Linked DNA regions of Homo sapiens: region 2 is linked to region 1. Evidence: promoter capture Hi-C in 16 types of primary human blood cells and fetal thymus (Javierre and others, 2016). All regions are on one chromosome and are shown on one strand. Each heading gives the region's core, a stretch centred on a gene start or on the middle of the fragment in contact. The rest is flanking DNA. Distances are from core to core; before and after follow the strand shown.

Region 1 (4,735 bases), core at 1,741-4,240:
GGCCTTGGGCTCAGCACCGGGAGTCTCAGCCCTGGCTGCTCCTTAGAATCTACTGCAGAGCTTTCAACACAGGCACCCCTCAAATACACCCACCCACCAGGTCACTGCTGACCCCCCTCTACTCGGACCACATCTCTCTGGGGCCGGAGCCGGCCCTGGGGTGTTTTAAGGTCACCTGGGTCTCCATGAGCTCCGTCGCTGTCCCCGTGTGCTCACCAGCTGTGCTTACCTCTCCACGCACTTAGGGGTGTGCTCTGCTCTCGAAAGTCCCCACAGCAGCCGCAAAGGAGGGGCCTGGTTGGGCCAATGTCAGCAGGGCCTCCTTAGCTCACCCTGACAATGGTACCCCCATTTCTCTGGCAGCAAACAAGGGGGAACTGACCCAGTTCAGTCTCCTGGGGTGCAACGCCTAAGCCACTCTCCCCTCAGCACCCGCAGGGGGCCTCTGAAGAAGAGAGGGCTGCAGGACACGTCTGCCTCTCCCCTCCGCAAACCAGGCTCTGCGGCCCCATCTCATCTGCTTCCAGGCTCCCTGGCCAGCTTGGGAACAGCCCCATTCATTCGGGGTACCCCTGGAACCTTGCCCCAGCTCCCACCACAAGTTGGGACAGGAAGCCCAAAGTGACTCCTACAGGGGAGGCCTGGCGGCACTGCACCCCAATTCAGCTTCTTGGGGTCCTAGCCCCCACCCTCCCATTGGGTTTCTGGAGTGGCTGGGGTGCCCTGCACACAACCTGCTCTTGTTTCTCTTTAGTCCCCGCAATGCCCGCTGCCCAGGGCTGCCTCCCGACCTGTAGGAGAAGGTCTCCAGGCCCTAGGCCAGCAGATGTACTCCTGTTGTGTCAGGACCCCAGCCTCCCCCGACTGCCCACACCCGCTGGCCTGACAAAGAGGAATGGGGAGCCCGGACAACTTGTGAATGAAAAAGCTTCTCACCTACTTGCCAGGGGCCTACCCCCTTCCCAGGCTGGTGGGGAGGTGAGGCCCATCCCCCTCATCCCTGGCTTCTCCTCGGCCACAGCTGTCCATGGGGTACTCCCGGCTGTGGGTGGTGCAGGGGTTGGGAGCTGGGAGGCCGAGGCCTGTGCTTCCCTCGGGCCTGTGCACCCGGCCGCACCATCCGTAACGCGGGCTTATGAGCGTGCCTGGCTGCTGGGTGGCCTGACGGGTGGACACCGAATGGGCCACTCTCTTCTCTGCTGGTAGAGGATGGAGGCCCAAGGTGGAGGTGCTGTCGGCACAGCTGGGGCAGACCAGGGGAGACCCCCTATCCAGGGATCCCCTCCTCCCCTCCCAGGCCGCCCCTCCGCAAAATGCTGAGGACTGGCCCCCGGGCCTGGGCTACATGGGCCATTACTTCTGGCCTGGGGCCCACAGGCAGAGATGCCAATGGAGGCACACAGGCAGTCGCACCCGCACCCGATCAGCACCAGGCCTGAGGCCTTCGGGCCTCCCTATGCCCCACCCCACCCCCACCCACCAGGAGCAGAGGACGTCGTGGTGGGCAGAGTCCTCAGCCTGGGAGCTGCACAGCCCCGCGCTTCCTTCTATGGAAAATCTGCTCCTCCAGGCTGCCTGGCTGCTGTTACATAAACATCTCTGCTGCCTCCAGGCGCCTCCTCTCCTGGGGCGCTGACCCCAAGATGTTACCCCAGGCCTGCAGAAGTGAGGCCAGATTCTGGGAGGACGCAGGCGAGGGAGGCTCCCAGCAGCAGCTACAGGGGCGGGACAGGCCGCCTGCACTGGCTGTTTCCAGAGTGCTCAGCATTTGGCAAGAGGTGTGCCAGGAAAGGCTTGCTGGGGTCAGGTGTGAGATTTGTCCTGCTTTCTGTGCCTGCCTCTGCCACCATGCTCTGGGGTTTCTGCAGCCCTCCCCCCAGGCCCCCACAGTCCTAGGTCCCTCCCAGCCTTTCGGTCTCCCCGCAGGGCAGGCTTAGCCCTCCTACTCCAGGAGGGGCGCCGGGACACGCGCCTTCTGCCATCGCACTCACCACCCTGTGTTGGGGTGGGGAGGGGGCGCTGTCTGTCCCTGGCACGAGGCCGTGAACTTTGCGCAGGGACTATGGCAGGCATTTTGGACTCCTGGCGCTTAACCAGGCTTGGCACAGGGTGCCCGTGCCTGGCATCGTGGTGGAGAAATAAATCAGCCGGAAGGAGCACGTGGGAAGGGCTGCGCCGGCGCCAGCGGCAGATCCGCCCGACCCGTTTGTGCTTTCTGGGGCCACCTTAGGCAGGCGGCGCCCGGGCAGGAGGAGGACGGTGACCGAGGAGCGTGTCGACGCGGGTCCCCCTTGGGGGAGCGGGGCACAATCCGTCCGCGAGGCACTGGTCCCGGCTGCTCCCTCGGGGCGCCCGGAGTCCCCTGCCCAGAGGCCGCGGCGCCCCCATCCCTCGCGGTCAAGTGCTCGGGCAATCACGGCCAGGGATGTCTGGCGGCGATCGATCCTCTGGACGCCTAAAGCCGCGGCCACGGGGCCCTCGGGAGGGAGTGAAGCCGCTGGGCTAGGGGCGCACACACGGCTAGGCCACTCTCCCAGAGCCCTGCCCCGGGCCCGGGGTCCCCCAACGTGGCCTCAGCTGCTCCCCGCCCGGCCCAGCGCACGGTGCACACGGCTGTCCGCGGCCTCGCCCTCCCCATTCCGCCCCGGGCTCCTCCGCTTATTCACATGCAAATTTCAGTCGCCAGTTGTCGCCGAGCGCGGCAACCGCCAGAGCCGGATCCTTCCGCAGCCCCGGCTCAAACTTTTGGCCTCTGAAAACTTTCAAACGAGAAGTAGTCCCAGGCGCCCGCTCCCGACCCACGCCGCGCCGCCGGGTCCCTCCTCCCCGGAGAGGCTGGGCTCGGGACGCGCGGCTCAGCTCGGGGAGGCGCAAAGGCGGACGGGGCGTGCGGGAGGAGGTGGCCGCGGAGGGGGCGGGGGGACCGGCGGGGGTGGGGCCGGGCGGGGCGGGGCCGGCGGGGGCGGAGCGCACCTCGACTCTGAGCCTCACTAGTGCCTCGGCCGCGGGAGGGAGCGCAAGGGCGCGGGGCGCGGGGCGCGGGCGCGGGCGCGAGCGCAGCGAAGGAACGAGCCGGGCGCGGAGCCGGGCCCGGGGGCCTGCGAGAGCACAGCGCCGCCAGCCAGCCGGGGAAGAGAGGGCGGGACCGTCCGCCGCCGCCCCGGGACCGTACGCCGCGCGTGTGCGTCCCAGCCCCGCCGGCCAGCGCAGGAGGCCGCCGCCCGGGCGCAGAGGGCAGCCGGTGGGGAGGCATGCCGCCGCTCCTGGCGCCCCTGCTCTGCCTGGCGCTGCTGCCCGCGCTCGCCGCACGAGGTAGGCGCCCACCCACCCGCGAGCCCCCACTTTCCGCGCCCTTTGGAAACTTTGGCGGCGCCCGGCGCGCGCGCCCCACGGCTGGGAGCGGGCGGCGGGGAGGCCAGCATGGAGAGGGAAAAGCGGGCGGCCCGGGGCGTGGGGTTCTGGAGTCCCGGGATCAGGGAGGACCGACCTTCCCCCTCGATCCCCCCGTGGAGGCGGACTCGCGCCGCCCGTGCCTGGAGCCGAGTTAGGAGGCCGGTGTGGGGTGCTGGGGCCCCGGAGGCCCTACTCCGGGCCCGCCCTTCACCCGCCGCGCGTGGGGCTTGCCGCCGGTCGGCCGGGCGGGCGGGCTGCCTACTATTTTTCGATTTGAATAGAGTCGGTTTTGGTTTCCTGTTGCTTCTCCGGGCCATTTATCTTCTTTCTTCTTCGCCTCTGGCCCACGCCGGGGCGGATGTTGGGGCGCGGAGTGTGGGCTCTGCGGCGCCGCGTTCGCCTTCACTGACCCGCGCGGCCGGGCTGGGTCCCCGGGCTCCCGGTCGCCCCGCCCGCCGGTGCCCCCCAGCCCGGCTCTCAGTTTGGGGGAGGGGTTGCGTAAGAAGCCGCCGCGCCCGGGGGGACTGAACTTTCCTTTTGCTTTGCGGAGTTGAAGTTTGGAAAGCTTGGGGGCGGAGAGCGGGACGCGGGTGGGGGGCTCTTACATTTCTCCCCGCCGCACAGCGAGCGGGGTCTCTGGGGAATCGAGTGATTAATCCACTCTTTCTCCGAGAGTTGGAGGCGAGAATTATCTGTCCTCTTCCAGAAAGTGCGGCTCTGTGTCACACCCCCCTCCCCCGTTTCTCAGCCCCGGTAAGATGGGGAGGGAGGGGCTTGAGTAATTGATCCCTTCTCGAGATGGGGTCGAATTCCTTCCGAATGGGGGACCTTCATCCCCCTCCTGTGGGTGTATGGGGGCTGCCCTGGAGATGCGCGCCCGCGGAGGCAGGTATTGGGTGTCGGCGGAGGCGGGGCCGCGTCCCCAGGGTGCTGTCCCGGTGCCCCTGGAGGCGGCCCCGACTCCACAATGGGCCGCTCTGATTCTGAGGCGGAGGCCGGCGCTTTGTTGGCGGGCGGGGTAGCGGGCGAGCAGCTGTCGCATTTTCCCACGGGCGGGAGCTGAGTGTGGCCACCCCCCCTCCCCCCGTCCAGCTCTGCCCCCTTGCAGAACGGGTTTGAACAGAGGCAATCTCGGCGGCTGGATGGGGGGCCCTGCCCTGCCAGACTCCTCAGTGAGCCTCCAGGGTGGGGGGCAACGCTTTGGAGAGTAGCCCACTTTGTCTCTGCTTTTCCCCCACTGCGTCCAGGCGGCACATCAGGCCACCCCACCCTGCTTCAAGCAGGACGTGTTCCCTGCTGCTCCCCTTCCCCCCATTTCTGACTACAGAACTCTGGGCAGAAT
Region 2 (7,524 bases), core at 2,561-5,060, 450 kb after region 1:
CTGCACCTCTCTTCTGTGTTGACAGGCGAGACGCAAGCGAGAGAGTGGGCAGAGAAGCCCTCTGGCTGTCCTCCTGCCGCAGGGGTGCAGAGGCGCACTCTGGCTCTGGGGAGCTGTCCCGGAAGCACAGCCGAGAGAGCCTGTGCTGGGCTGGTGAGAGGCTCCAGGTCCTCCTGGGGTCTTCTCAGCCCAACAGCCCTGGCCAAGGGCTGACCTGAACAGCAGCACCAGGGAGGCACCTGAGGCCCCCCGCCTGCTACTTCCCTTTCTGCTGACCGAGCTCCCCGGACACTCTGAGGACCGGGAAGAGGCATCAGAACTCGGGCAGGTGTGGGAGAGGGGGCACAGCATCCCCCAGCAGCCCCAGGAAACAGGGTGGAGACAGATGGAGCCTAGGCTCCAATTCTGAGACTCCTCAGGGCACCTGCTGTGTGCCAGGCACCACACTGAGCCAGTGATGAGACAGTGGACAAGGTGGGAGACCGTGCCGATGGAAGCCAAGGGCGGACCAGTGTCAGGATGGCGTCTGGGTGCCTGCTGCCGACGGCCATGTGGCTCTTTCATAAGGAAGGGTCAGGGAAGGCTTCCTGAGCCAGGGATATTGGGGTGGAGACTCAAAGAAAGTGACAGAGCAAGCCTTGGAGACACAGGGGCAGAAGGTTCAGGCAGTGGGAACAGCGGGTGCAAGGGCCCTGGGGCAGCAGGTACAGCAGAAGCCAGCCTCGCTACAGCTGAGCAGGCACTGGCGTGGACGAGGCTACCACGGGTGGGATGTGGGGTGGGGAAGGATGTGGGGCATGGGTGGGGTGGGGTATGAGGCGGGGGTGGTGAGCTGGGTCCTGGTCACCCAATCACCCGGGCTTGTGCTCTGAGCAAGAAGGACATTGGGGAGCTCTTGGGGGTTCTGAGCGGGTGGGGGTAATCCAACAGGTTTAGAAGCAGCCCTGTGCTGCTGTGTTGTGACAGGCTGGGGCAGGGCTGGAGGGGAGGCTAGGGACCGGGGTGGGGAAGGGGGCTGTGGCAATCACTGGAGAACAGGGCAGTTGTGGACCAGGAGGGTGGCTCCGACATGACTTTAACACAGAGCTGTTAGGATGGGCACAGACTGGATCTGGCGTGAGATTGGGGTGGGATGTCACCACCTGCACAATGGTAGCAGCACCTGGAGAGCCATCAAAGGCTTCTGCCATCCAGGGGAGGACACGCAGGTGTCCAGGCAAACAGGTTGGTCCTCTGTGTATGACTCCTGAGCGCACCCAGGGGCTCTGCAGTGTCTGCAGATGTGGCTTGTGACCTCCCCTTACCCCCTGCCCAATGCTTTCTGGATGGAAGGGGAAAAATCAAGTTGCAAGGCCGTGAGAACTCAGGCCTGGATCCCGGATGGGGCCTCCCTGAGCTGGAGACCCATAGCAGCGGTGCTGCTATGCTCAGTTGAGACTGTGGCCCCCAGGCCCTTGTAGCAGCCAGGAATCAACAAGATCAAATGCAGGGAGGAGATGCGGAGGATGCACCCGGGGTGAGCCCCACTCAGCCCAGGCCCTGCTGGGGACCCCTGAGTGAGCCCCAGGCTAAGCTGTAAAACGGGAATAAGGCTGGGCGCAGTGGCTCACACCTGTGATCCCAGCACTTCGGGAGGTTGAGGCAGGTGGATCACCTGAGGTCAGGAGTTCAAGACCAGCCTGCCTAACATGGTGAAACCCCGTCTCTACTAAAAATACAAAAATTAGCTGGGCGTGGTGGCACGTGCCGATAATGCCAGCTACTCGGGAGGCTGAGGCAGGAGAATCGCTTGAACCCGGGAGGCAGAGGTTACAGTGAGCTGAGATCGCGCCACTGCACCCCAGCCTGGGCAACAGTGTGAGACTCGGACTCAAAAAAAAAAAAAAAAAAAGGAATAAACAGAGCTCACCTCATGGTACTGTTGTGAACGTTAAATGCGGTAAGGTGTACATACTCAGTAGCACGGGCCTGGAATTCAGTAGGGATGCAGGGTTTGCTTTAAAAGGTGCAAATATATGTTGGTGTACATACGTATAGGCACACAGAAATTGGGGAATTGATTTCTGCTTATCCGCTATCTTCTAAACACTTTTCAATGCTTTCCAAATATCCTTCACTAAGGAAGAATGTCTTTAATATTTAGAAAATAAAAGTGATTAAAACAATCATTCCCATCCCTGGAGGGCCACGGGTCCTAGTGGGTAGCCCCTTGAGGCCTGCCCCAGGGCTGGAAGCAGCTCCAGGCATCTGTCTCTGGGATTCACGATTCTCAGGGGCTTGGGGTAGCTATGCTCACTGAGAGATCCTGCAGAGATTGTAAAGTCAGGCCTAGGAAGCACCAGAACCCTGAGGCTGCTGAGCTCATGCCCTGGGTGTAGGAGGCACTCAGAACCCTCCTACCCCACCTCCTTCCCACAGTAGACTGCGGGGCGGGTTTGGAAGTGGCAGTGGTGGGGGGAGGGGGGTTGGGGTGTGGGACCTGGGACTGCATTTAGGTCTAGATGGGACTCTGTGGGGAGAGCCCAGAGTCCCTGCGGGGTTCCATACTCACCCCCATACAAGGCAAGCCAGGGAGTGAAGTGTGTGTGTGTGTGTGTGTGTGTGTTCTGGACGCAGAGCTGAATAGAACCTAAAGTTGGGGTCAAGGGCCAGTCTGTGGCCAAGATCAAGGGCCTAGCTTGAGGTTGGGGTGACAAGAACCTGGCCAAGCTTCTGATGATTTGTCCAGGGAATGACCTTGGCTGACTGTGCCAGAAGGGCTGTAGCCCCAGGTTTCTGATCCCCAGAGCCCCAAAGGCGTTCTCTGGGATGCTGGTGGCCATCTCCTTCTCAACCCTTCTCCCAGCGCCCTCGCTCGGGACCACTGAGGCGGTATCACTCCATTCTCCTGCAAGGACCCTTGAGCGTGCTGTGGGAGTGAGGCTGGCTTAGCCTCTGAGGACCACTGCAGCCTGTCCTGACCTCAGGCCCCAGGTTAGGGGGCAGCTGAGGAGGGGTCTCTGGGTCTTTCCGGGTGTGTGGCCGTTTTATTTCCGTGCCCTTGTTTTAAAACTGCACCTCTGTCCTCAGGAGCGTGGCCTTGGGCAGATGGAGAGCTGCGTGGCCGGTGCCGGAATGACTGTCAACGCCCCAGTGCGCCCGGATCACACCAGGCCTGAAGGCAGCGCCAGGCCCAGTCCAGGCAGCTTGCAGTTCCCGGGCCGCAGGGACGGGCGCCGGAGCCCCGCAGACGTTCGCCCAAGGGCGCTCCCGTATCCTCGTCTTTCACGGCCCGCCTGAGCGTCCAGGGCGGCTGCGGATGCGCGCACTTCCCCCGCCCGGATCCCGGAGGCTGCACCGTGCGGACGCGACTGCCGCGGGCAGGGCGCGCGCCGGGGGCGGGGTAGGGGGGCCCGGGGGCTCTCCCGGGCTTAGCGAGTCCGGCCGAGGCCGGGGCCCGGGGAGGGCGGAGGGCGGCGCTCCAGGTCCTTTCCCGACCCGGCCGCCGAGCTCCGTCCTCTGCGCCGCGGCGTCCGGCTCCCGCCGGGTGTCCCGCGCAGGGTCGACCGCCGGCAGCTCCGGAAGGAGGACGCGCGAGGGGCGAGGAGCTGCCGCCTCCCCTCCCCAGCGCTCGGGGTTCCCCACGCCCCGCCGGCCCCCACTGGGGACCCTCCCGGCCCCCGGACCCCAGCCCCGACCCCGGGAGCCCACCTGGCTGCCAGTGCGCGCGCGCGCGCGGCCGGCGCGCTGTCCCTTTAACGGCCCGCGGGCACCTCCCCCGCCGCCGCCCCGCCCCCGCCGCGGTGCGGCCGCCGGTGCTGGGCGAGGTCGGAGAAAGTCCATGGGAGCCGGAGCGCCGGGACGCCAAGCACTTCCTGCCGCGGGCGGCGCGCCGCAGCTGCCCAGGCCGGACCGGGCCGGGCGCCCGCAGGTACCGCCAACTTGGCGCGCGCGGCCGCCCCCGGGTTACGCCGCCGGGCGGGGTCGTCCCACGGGCCGGGCCCGCACTTCCCGCAAACTCCGCGGCCGCCCAACTTGGCGCGAGCCCCCTGCCGCAGTGCCGGCCGCGCGGGGCGGGTGCGGCCGAGTTCCGCGCCGGCCCGGGCGTGCGCGCGGGAACCGGCCTCGGGAGCCCGCGGAGGGGGGCCGGGCGGGGCCGGGGGGTCCCGGCGGAGGCGCCCGCGACCCCGGGCCGGGACGCCGCGCCGCGCGTTCGGGGAGACCCCGGCTCCGGGCGTCCCGGGGCGCTCCCCGCCGCCTGCTGGGTTTCCCTGGATTTCTGGGGACCCGCGCGGCCTCCCCAGGGACCCGACTGGCCGATCCAGCCCTCCGGGTGGGGAAGCCGGGGCAGGACTGGCCCGGGGCCAGGGCGGAGGTACCCACCCCTCCCGGCGCATCTGCGCAGCTGCCTGGCCCAGCCGGGCCCGCGCCTCGCCCTCCCGGTCCAGGTGGGCCCGTTCGTGGGTCGTCACCGCCTCCCGCGCCTCCCCCACTCGGGCCCCAGCCTGGGGAGAAACTGGGGTCCGGCCGCAGGGGGAGGGGGCTCTGCCTCTTGCCAGCTTCTGTGCCTCTGCGGAGCTGAGGTCGGGGGGCCCCAGCTCCTTCTCTAAGAAACTCAGCGGAGCCCGGGGCCCGCCGCGCACCCCGCACGGCCAGGGCGGACCGAGGCCTTCCGACGGAGTTTCCTGCTTCTCTTGCTGGGATCGTGTGGGGTCGGAGGTCAGAGGTCACCTCCCAGCCCCTCTGCCAGGCTCTGGGGGAAGTTTGGTCTTGGACTCTCGTCGTGGAGCCGCTTAAACCTGTGGGTCTGAAGGCCGCGAGGCCGGGTCCCTGGAGTTGGCCTCCCAGGCCGTTCCACTCCCTCCCCCAACCCCCGCGCGGGGCCTCCGGATTGGAGGTGTTTCACCCACGTGCTGGTGGGCCCGTCTCCCTGGGCCGCTGGGTGCCCTGAGCTGTGTTCTCTGCTGCGCGTTCCTTCCTGTGTGTGGCGGGGGTGCTGACCCGGGGGTGCCCAAGGCAGCCCGGACTCCCATCCCGTGGAGCTGCCTCCGGGAGCGCGTGCACCTTGGTGTTCCCGCCCGCCAGCGCGGCCGCACTCTCCTGCCAGAGTCCGTGTCCCTCCAGGTCGCCCCTTCTTCTCACCCACCCCTCTTTTCGTCTGGCAGGCTCCTGACCTCCTTCCCTCCTGTTCTCCAGTGGGACACTCAGCTCAGCATTCTGCAGGGTGTTTTAGCCTGTAGCACCCCCCAGCAGGGGCGCCTAGAGTTAGGTCAGGGTTCAGGCAGCCCCCGCCCCACCCGCCACCTCTCAGCCACCCACCCCTTCTTCTCCCGGCCACCGTTGGAGCACCCCTCTGGTCCTCTGTGGGGCCTTTCCCAGCCCCTCCCTTAAAGAGGCCTCTTGGCGTTTTCCCCTGGGGTCACTGTTGGGTGGTAGCTGGGCCAGAGTCCAAGGGGAGGAAATAAAAGGAGCTGCCACCCAAGGTGGTGGCCCCCTGTCCTTTCGGCAAAGCCACTTGGAATGGGCACAGAGAGTGGAACAAGATATCACTTGTCACTTCTTAGTGGCCAGGGATCCTTTCGCAGTGGTCACACCCAGGGCTCGATGGTGCTGGCCCTGGCCTGGCGGGAAGGCGGGGAGGAGCCACCCGGGAGATCTCCTGCTGGGAGCAGTGGGAGCTGGGCTGCTACAGGCTGCGAGAACAGGCTCTGTTCTTTACCACCGGCTGCTGGAAGGGTTCGCAGGGCTGCTCTGCCCTGGGCAGGGGGCTAGTGGTGACTTTTAAAAAATTCTTCAATCCTCCCTTTGTTTTCCAATTAAAGCATGAGGCTGCATTATTCATGAAACAACAGTGACGATCTTGGTGCTGAGCGGTTCTTCCAGGCCTGCACTCCTCTTGGCCTCTGCCTCCGGAGTCCTGCTTTCCTGGTTTGTGGGCAGTGTGGTCTCCCAGGCCCGAGGGATGGAATGGGGAACCAAGGTGTTGTCCTTTTCGGGATGTTGAGTTCCCAAGGTTCCACCTTGTGCCCCTTCCTCTGAGGTCTGTGCCTCTGACCTGTGTCCCTGGAACGCACAGGGCACCGAGTGCCCAGTGGCCCCAGCCACCGTCAGTGGGGCAGAGCCCATGTTCCTTCCTCAGCCAGCCCTGTTCTAGCCACCTCCACACACTGTCCCCAGGCTGCCTCTCTGCATCTCACAGCCCCTTGGGGTCACTCCATCCCCTTTGCAGGGTCACGCAGTGGGTTCCGAGATCCAGTTGGACTGTGGCCGGTGGGATGAGGGTCGGAGTCCACAGGGGGGCAGCAGGTGGCACCCCTTACCCCAGGATACACCAGCATGTTTCTCCGGAGAACCAAGGCCTTCTACAGACCCCAGTGTAACGAACACATTTGGGAACTTGACTATGGGGCCCCCTGACTCTGCTGCTCCTCCGGCCCAGTCCACCTTCACCTTGGTAGCACATGTCCCTGCCTCAGTGGCCCAGGCTGACCAGCCTCCCATTGTGGTTCTGAGGACAAGGTAGGCCACCTTCCACTTCAGGGTGACATTTCTGGCCTGGGCTGAGGAAACCTGGGGCTGGGCTTCCAGGCGTGGCTCGAAGGAGAAGCAAAGCCCTGTGGTGTGAGGCCGTGGAGCGCCCTCCAAGGCAGGAGAGAAGTAGCGCTAGCCCGTCTGGACGCTGGACCTGAGCCGCCGTCTGATGCATGTGGGCAGGTGCGGGAGTTTGTGAGGTCTGACTGGGTCTGGTCTCACTGGGGGCTGATGAGGGGTCTTGGGAACCTGTGTAGAGCTGGCTCACTGGGGCCTCTCACCCCATCTCCGGTCAGGCTCCCCGGCGGTGAGTGTCTGCAGACCCAGCTCCCTGGGTCCTGGGCCTTCCCCGAAGTGCCCTCTCCCCAGCATTTCGTTCCTTTCCTGGCACCCTCTCTGGGCACGCCCTTGGTCCTCCCAGAGGTGGGCAGTCGGGCCTTGGGTGGGGGAGCTTGGCCAGCGTTTCTCTACTCTTGTCTCCCCACTGGGCCCCAGTTCAGAGCTGTGTGTGGCCCCCACACCGGCCTCCCTGAGGCGCCCCCTAATCCCCAGGTGGATCTCGTTTCCCTTTCAGCCTGTCCAGAGTCACAGAGGAGATGTGACTGGAAGGTTGTTTGGGCCTTGGCTGTGGGGGCCGGGGAGCGAGGTTACCCAGGCCAGGGGCTGCTGCTCCACGCCTGCCTCCGCCTCTGTTGCGGGGCAGGGATCCTGGTGACCTCTGTTTTTTTGTTTGTTGTTGTTGTTGGTTTTTTTTTTAAGCAAATCCTTGCTCTCACCAGCCCTGGCTCTTGGTGAGATGAGATCATTTGTAAAATATGCCTCCTGGCTGGCTGGGGCTCCTTACTGTGTCACCTGCAGCTGCCCATTTGCTGGGAGCCCTAGCTCCCTCAGCTGTGGCCTTCCTGCGTTTGCTGTTTACGGTTTGGGTTTTGGAAGCACACACCCTTGTATAGGGTCTCAGCAGAGCGCAGTGGGCAGGCGTGAAGGCATCTGTCTGGAAGTATTGGTTGCTTG

The links. Contacts are between HindIII fragments. The CHiCAGO score rates a contact against its expected background, and 5 or more counts as called.
Region 2: the fragment with the promoter of NACC2 here is called in contact with the fragment with the promoter of NOTCH1 in region 1 in 1 of 17 cell types (erythroblasts); the score reaches 5.6 in erythroblasts.

Annotation. Positions count from the first base shown.
Region 1 is chr9:136,544,303-136,549,037 of GRCh38, reverse strand. NOTCH1 (notch receptor 1) reads left to right here and starts at 2,990. Exons shown (of 34, transcript NM_017617.5): 1 at 2,990-3,312. The coding sequence starts at 3,252. MIR4674 (microRNA 4674) reads left to right here and starts at 2,779; the gene lies at 2,779-2,865. It overlaps NALT1 (NOTCH1 associated lncRNA in T cell acute lymphoblastic leukemia 1), which reads right to left and starts at 1,196. Exons shown (of 3, transcript NR_121577.1): 1 at 937-1,196. RefSeq lists enhancers at 1,222-2,133, 4,106-4,155 and silencers at 2,326-2,425, 2,766-3,325, 3,346-3,605, 3,826-3,875. The HindIII fragment of the contact is 3,030 bases long and covers 931-3,960 here.
Region 2 is chr9:136,091,575-136,099,098 of GRCh38, reverse strand. It overlaps NACC2 (NACC family member 2), which reads left to right and starts at 3,810. Exons shown (of 6, transcript NM_144653.5): 1 at 3,810-3,910. RefSeq lists silencers at 3,348-3,447, 3,768-3,897 and an enhancer at 5,103-5,794. The HindIII fragment of the contact is 6,619 bases long and covers 2,712-7,524 here.